Regions from separate parts of the Homo sapiens genome. Here region 1 is linked to region 2. The links are contacts of gene promoters, found by promoter capture Hi-C in blood cells and fetal thymus (Javierre and others, 2016). All regions are on one chromosome and are shown on one strand. Each heading gives the region's core, a stretch centred on a gene start or on the middle of the fragment in contact. The rest is flanking DNA. Distances are from core to core; before and after follow the strand shown.

Region 1 (3,614 bases), core at 132-2,631, 240 kb after region 2:
GAGCCCAGCCTTGCACTCCCATATCCTCCCTGGTCCTCCAGGGGTGGGCACAGAGCTGGTGCCAATGGTGAGTGCCAGGGCTTGCTCCCATGCCCCCCAGTAATTCTACATACAAAGGATCTAGACCCACAACAGAGGCAGTTACCTTCTCACAGCATGCCTGCCAGCATGGGGGCTCCCCACAGGCACCCTGGGAGAGCCTGGGGGACCCAGGGTATCCAGGTACTCTTTTTTTTTAACTTTAGGATTTCACTTTTCGTTATTCTTTTATTTTTTAAAAATTTTTTAATTTTTATATATTTTTTTATTTTTTTGTGATGGAGTTTCACTCTTGTTGCCCAGGCTGGAGTGCAATGACGTGATCTCGGCGTCCACTTCCTGGATTCAAGTGATTCTCCTACCACAGTCTCCTGAGTAGCTGGGATTACAGGCACCTATCACCATGCCCAGCTAATCTTTTTGTATTTTTAGTAGAGATGGGGTTTCACCATGTTGGCCAGGCTGGTCTTGAACTCCTGACCTAGAACTCCTGATCCATCTGCCTTGGCCTCCCAAAGTTCTGGGATTATAGGCGTGAGCCACTGAGCCCGGCCTCTTTATTCTTTTAAAATTAGTTAATACATGTGTATGTTTCAAAAATCAAAAGGTACAAAAGGGCATCCAATGAAGAGTTTCTCTCTCCCTCTTGTCCCACAGCTACCAAATGCCTGCTTTCTTGTGTATTCCTCCAGAGGTATATCAAGATATTCTGAGGTCATTCCAGGCTGATTTTATCACACAGAGGCTAGCAGGAAGTTGTGCTTTGGGTCGTTGGTCCTGGTATACTCTGAGCCCCTGCCCTTCCCACTGTCCTTTCTAGCAGAGGGAGAGAAAGAAAGTCCCCCTGGTCAGGTATGCACAGCCTGAGAGGTAAGGTGGCAGGGAAAAGAGTCTCAAATTGTCCCTTGAACACACAAATCCAGTTATTGGTGCCGTCATTCTCACCCGGGTGTGGGCGGTTGGAGCTGGTTAGAGGTGTATTTTACTTATAGGCCCTTTCTCCCCTCCTCTGCCCCAGCTCCTTCCATCTGAAGGACGTCCTCACTACCATCGGGGAGAAGGTGTGCCTGGAGGTGAGCAGCTGCCTCTCCCTGTGTGGGTCCTCTCCCTTCACCACGGACAAGGAGACCGTGCTCAAGGGCCAGATCCAGGCCGTGGCCAGTCCCGATGACCCCATTCGCAGGATCATGGGTACGTTTGGGGAAGGCAGGCAGCAGGGATGTGCCCTCTGAGGGGCTGGAGCACGAGTCCATCTGAAGAAACCTGAGGGCTCAGCTGGAGTTAAGGTGCTGATGGGTGAGGAGATGGTGTAATGAAGCACCACAGAGAGACCAGGGCCACCCAACAGATGGGCACAGGACCAGGCAGCCATCATTGTTCTAAGGGCTGCAACCTTGGAATCACTCTCCTGGGTTCACAAGCAGTGTCCCAGGGCAGCTTGGGCGTGTAACTTGACACTCGAGTTTCCTCATCTCTAAAGCAGGAATAAGGGCAGCAACCTTACAAGGTCGCTGCAGGAACTCCCTGGGATGAGAAGGTGAAGCGCTTTCCGTAGTGCCTGGCAGCACATAGTAAGTGCTCAGTAAATAGGAGCTGTTACGAAAAGAGCTGAATAGTAAAATGAAGATGTTATTTAAAAATACTATTAAAATATTATTAAATATTAGTATGTAATACTATTAACATATCAAATATAATAACTTAAAATGGTAATATTAAGATATTGCTATTTAAAATTTATAATAAACTTGAAGTATTAAAATATTTTAATGCATATTCTATAAAATATTTAAAATATTCTATAATATTAGCTATTAGTTATCACAGCAATGGCTTTATGAAAAATTCTGTTAATTAGCTCGACTTAATCATTTTGTAGTATATACATACATTTAAAACATCATGCTGTATGCTGTGAATACATAGTTTTGTTTGTTTGTTTTTGAGACAGGGTCTCACTCTGTCTTCCAGACTGGAGTGCAGTGATGCGATCTCGGCTCACTGCACTCCACCTCTGTGCTCCACCTCCCAGGCTCAAGCAGTCCTCCCACTTCAGACTCCCAAGTAGCTGGGACTACAGGCATGCACCACCACACCCAGCTAATTTTTTGTATATCTTCTAAAGATGGGGTTTTGCCTTGTTGGCCAGGCTGGTCTCAAATTCCTGGACTCAAGTGATCCGCCTGCCTCAGCCTCCCAAAGTGCTGGGGTTAACAGGCACGAACCACTGCATCCAGCCAAGATTTATACTCACAACCTTCATAGGGAGGCAGGAAAGTGCCTGTAAGTAGACCTGTGGCCAGCAAGTTGCTACTCATCCTGCTGCCTGGGTTGTTTTGTAATAGCCAGTTACCGACAGATTGAAAACCAGCCCTTAAGGGGAGGATCACTTAAAACCAGGAGTTCGAGACTATCTGGGCAGCATAGTGAGACCCCATCTCTACAAAAAATTAAAAAAAAAAAATTAGCCAGGTTAGTGACATGCATCTGTAGTCCTTGCTACTCGGGAGGCTGAGGCAGGAGGATCACTTGAGCCCAGGAGTTTGAGGCTGCAGTGAGCTACAATTTCACCACTGCACTCCAGCCTGGGTGACAGAGCAAGACCCTGTTTCTAAAAGAAAGAAAGAAAGAAAAGAAAAACCAGTCTTTGGGTAGGAACAATACAAAGATTTCTACTTCAGTGAGGCTGCCAGCCCTGGGAACCTTAGAGAACCAAACTAACTTAAGAATAAGGGTGCTGAGCACAGTGGCTCATGCCTATAATCCCAACATTTTGGGAGGCCGAGCCGGGCAGTTCACCTGAGATTGGAAGTTCGAGACCAGGCTGACCAACATGTAGAAACTCCGCCTTTACTAAAAATGCGAAATTAGCCAGGCATGGTGGTGCATGCCTGTGATGCTAGCTACTTGAGAGGCTGAGGCAGGATAATCGCTTGAACCTGAAAGGTGGAGATTGTGGTGAGCCGAGATTGTGCCATTGCACTCCAGCCTGGGCAATAAGAGCTAAAGTCTGTCTCAAAAAAAAAAAAAAAAAAAAGAATAAGGGTGATAGGGCCAGGTGTGATGACTCATGCCTGTAATCCCAGCATTTGGGAGGCCAAGGTGGGCAGATTACCTGAGGTCAGGAGTTTGAGACCAGCCTGGCCAACATGGTGAAACCCCGTCTCTACAAAAAATACAAAAATTTCCTGGGCATGGTGGCGTGTGCCTGTAATCCCAGGTACTCGGAAGGCTGAGGCAGGAGAGTCACTTGAACCCAGGAGGCGGGGGTTGCAGTGAGCCGAGATCGCGCCACTGCACTCCAGCCTGGGAGACGAGGGAAACTCCATCTCAAAAAAGAAAAAAAAAAGAAGAAGGGTGATAGGGCTGGGTGCAGTGGCTCACTCCTGTAGTTCCAGCACTTTGGGAGGCGGGGGCAGACGGATCACTTGAGGTCAGGAATTCAAGACCAGCCCGGGCAACATGGTGAAACCCCGCCTCTACTAATAATACAAAAATTAGCTGGGCATGGTGGCATGCGCCTGTAATCCCAGCTACTCGGGAGGCAGAGTGGGGAGAATCGCTTGAACTCGGGA
Region 2 (3,510 bases), core at 884-3,383:
GATTAAGTTCTCCTCCACAACAGAAGCTGTGGTGTCCATCTCCCCACCAGGAGGTCTCAGTGCTGTAGGTTGACTCAATGAATAAACAGGAAAATGGGTGTTCTAGTGAAAATGTTTCCTATTCTTGTGTTCAACCACAATAAACCATGTCTGGCCTCTTCATAGTCTGATCCCAATTGCTTGAATAAGAGGGAAAGAAGAATCCATCATAGAAATAGTTTAGACCACGAGGTAGACAAATGGAAAGTGAAGAGGAAGGGATTGGAAGAAGGGAAAGGAAAAGCACTGCCTAGAAGGAATCAGTGAAAACAAAATTTCTGCAGAAAACTTAGGAATAATTCAGTTGATTATCAATAATAATAATAAAATAGACAATATCCTTTGGGAGGAGAAAAACAGAATTTGGTAAAAATTGAATTAGTCAAAAATTTGAGGCCGGGCACAGTGGCTCATGCCTGTAATCCCAGCACTTTGGGAGGCCGAGGTAGGTGGATCACCTGAGGTCAGGAGTTTGAGAACAACCTGGCCAACATGGTGAAAACCCCTCTCTCCTAAATGTACAAAAAATTAGCCGGGCGTGGTGGTGGATGCCTGTAATCCCAGCTACTCGGAAGGCTGAGGCAGGAGAATCGCTTGAACCCAGGAGGCGAAGGTTACAGTAAGCCAAGATTGTGCCACTGTACTCCAGCCTGGGTGACAGAGCAAGACTCTGTCTCAAGAAAAAAAAAAAAAAAATGAAGGGGGAAAAAATGTTTCCCTTGGTCCCCAGCAAGTGCCAGACCACTTCGACCAAAGCATAAATAGTGTTTCAAAGAACTGTTAAGCACGTTCTTTGGATAAAGAAGGATGTGACCATCACCTGGCATAGGTACTCTGTCCACCTGCTGCCTTCATTACTTGATGCAGCAGTTTTTGAAGTCTTTAATCAAGACCTTTTTACGCTCTTTTACATTATCAAGGACCCCAAAGAGCTTTCACTTATGTGAATTTTATCTAATGATATTTATTATCTAACATTAAAACTGAGAAATTTTCAAAATATTATTTGAAATCAAGACAACAAAGCTTACTTTTTGTTATGTTTATGCATAGACTCAAGGAAAAGATCAAGATTTCAAGATAATTACTTCAGAAAAATGAGGTTATAGCTATCCTAGTAGATATGAACAAATAGAACTAATCAAAGTACAAAAGCAGTAGCCAAGAGAGTTGGTGGACACCTGTAGTCCCAGCTACTCTGGAGGATGAGACAGGAGGATCTCTTGAGCCCAGGAGTTCCTGGGCAACAAAGTGAGACCCCCTACTCTGAAAAAGAAAAAAGGAAAGAAAAAAAATTAAGTTCACAAGTACTGAGAACAAATTTTATTAATCTCTATAAATCTACATAAATCTCTATAAAATGTACATACTGATAATGTAAACATACTACTATGGAAAATACCAGAAAATACAAGCACGCTCACTCAGGTATTCTATTAGGAGACAGAATGATGACGTTATTACACTTCAAATAGCCCCTGGAAATTTCCACTGTACACTCTTGAGAGAATGAAAGTGAAAATGGCAAATCATTTATTGTTACTATAATGGAAATAGTTTTGCCCTCAGAGACCCCTGGAAAAGATCTTGGAGACATCCCAGACCTGGCGGACCACCATTGGAGAACCAATGTAATCAATTACTTGTAAGGTCATTTCCATTTCTTATCACGAATAAAGGGTATTTTGTCTGATGAATATCTTGTCCTCGTCCCCGGACCACCCTTTTGAGAACAGTTGACCTAAGGTAACCACAGGACTCCTGGCCCAGTGGGACCCAAAGCGAAAAGCCCTGGACGCGCCGAGGGCGCTCTGCTTAAGACTGAGAACCGAAATGCTTCCTGAATTAGGATCATTGAGAACGCCGAGTGCAGACACAAATCGAAAAGCAGCCACCCGCGCCGCCAAGGCGGGGCCAGAACTGGCGGCAGGCGGCTGGCCCGCCCGGGGATGGGGCAGAAGCTGGGGCGGCTGAGAGCGCAGCGCGGGCTCCCGGGAGACGCCGGCCCACTGCCCGCCCGCTCGCCGCAGGTAGGCCCGGCCCCCGGGAGGTGGGGCGCGGCCAGGTGTCCCCAGGTAGCCGCCTCCTCCCGTCCTCCGTCGGCCGCCTCCCCGGACCGAGGCAGGACCTCACCCCGCGCGTGTTCCCCGGGCGCCCCTCTGCGAACCCCAGGCCCTTCCCAGGTTTGCGCGCGGGGGCCATCCAGACCCTGCGGAGAGCGAGGCCCGGAGCGTCGCCGAGGTTTGAGGGCGCCGGAGACCGAGGGCCTGGCGGCCGAAGGAACCGCCCCAAGAAGAGCCTCTGGCCCGGGGGCTGCTGGAACATGTGCGGGGGGACACAGGTACGAGGCCTGGCGGCAGGACCTCGGCGGGGAGGGGGTTACCTGGAAGGGGCCACCTCGGCGGACTGGGTTGGATTCGAACACATAGCGAGGGTTGCCCGCGGCGACAGGTGCCCGATCAGCCCTCGGCAGGGTCACTGGGCACGGCGTTTGTCCCAGGCGCTCTCAGGGGCTGCTTCCTGGGCGCGCGTCGGGTTCCGGCGACCGAAACCGCGCGCCGGGCGCTCTTGCGCCTAGGCTTTGAGTACAACAGGTTGGTGATTCAGTTCGACAGAAACTCAAAGTGCTGAGCTAGGGGCCTTTTTTTTTTAATATTTTTTTTTGTTTGTTTTAGTTTGTTTGACAGTTGCCAGACTATGTTTACGCTTCTGGTTCTACTCAGCCAACTGCCCACAGTTACCCTGGGGTTTCCTCATTGCGCAAGAGGTCCAAAGGCTTCTAAGCATGCGGGAGAAGAAGGTAAGCACTAAAACGTCCCTGGAACCCAGAGCCGCATAGCACAGATCTCAGTGAGAAAGTGCAGTATTTGAAATTACATACCCCCAGCAATCATAGAAACACTAAAATATCCTTTAGTTTAATTTGTGGCATATTTGGCAAGGTTGTGTTTTTTTATGTTCTTTAACTGCAATTTATAGAATTTGATGTCTGTGAGTCTCCTTTAATAAGTATATACGTAAGACCTAGTTTGTGGTTAATTGAATGGAAAACCTATTTCAGCTTCTGAAAATCAGTGAGTGACATTTCTCTAGATGAAGCTGTGTGGCGATTATAATAAGCATAATTACTTGTTCTTCCTGGAGAGGCGAACGGGGAGTCCAGGATCTAGTCTGGACTTGCGAGACCCTGGGCGAGATAACTTAATCCCGTTTGGCTTGAATGTCTTCATCTGTAAAAGTGATGCGGGTGGGGCGTAAAATGATCTCTGAGGTCCTTTTTGACTTCAGATGGTCTAGTTGTCTAGATAAAAGCAGCTAGTTGAGAAAAGATTAGGTTTGGGGCTTGCTAACCTGGAAGTCCACAGTTTTTAGGTTTCAGATCATTAACAGTTTGTTTCCTGCCTATATCTTAAAAGCCTAACCTAGTAAAACCAGAAGAAAAAAAAAGCCTCTGTCTCTCAGCATCCTTCT

The links. Contacts are between HindIII fragments. The CHiCAGO score rates a contact against its expected background, and 5 or more counts as called.
Region 1: a contact is called between a fragment that was not itself captured here and the fragment with the promoter of PRRG4 in region 2, in 1 of 17 cell types (M0 macrophages). The highest score is 5.1, in M0 macrophages.

The regions. Positions count from the first base shown.
Region 1 is chr11:33,067,630-33,071,243 of GRCh38, forward strand. It overlaps TCP11L1 (t-complex 11 like 1), which reads left to right. Exons shown (of 10, transcript NM_018393.4): 9 at 1,058-1,230. Among named protein-coding and RNA genes, the nearest start is that of LINC00294, 6.7 kb to the right of the region's middle. RefSeq lists an enhancer at 622-1,123. The HindIII fragment of the contact is 8,642 bases long and covers 1-3,614 here.
Region 2 is chr11:32,827,794-32,831,303 of GRCh38, forward strand. PRRG4 (proline rich and Gla domain 4) reads left to right here and starts at 2,134. Exons shown (of 6, transcript NM_024081.6): 1 at 2,134-2,380; 2 at 2,715-2,839. The coding sequence starts at 2,737. It also overlaps a transcript of CCDC73 not described here. RefSeq lists a silencer at 1,911-2,290 and enhancers at 2,711-2,760, 2,771-2,830. The HindIII fragment of the contact is 6,622 bases long and covers 1,064-3,510 here.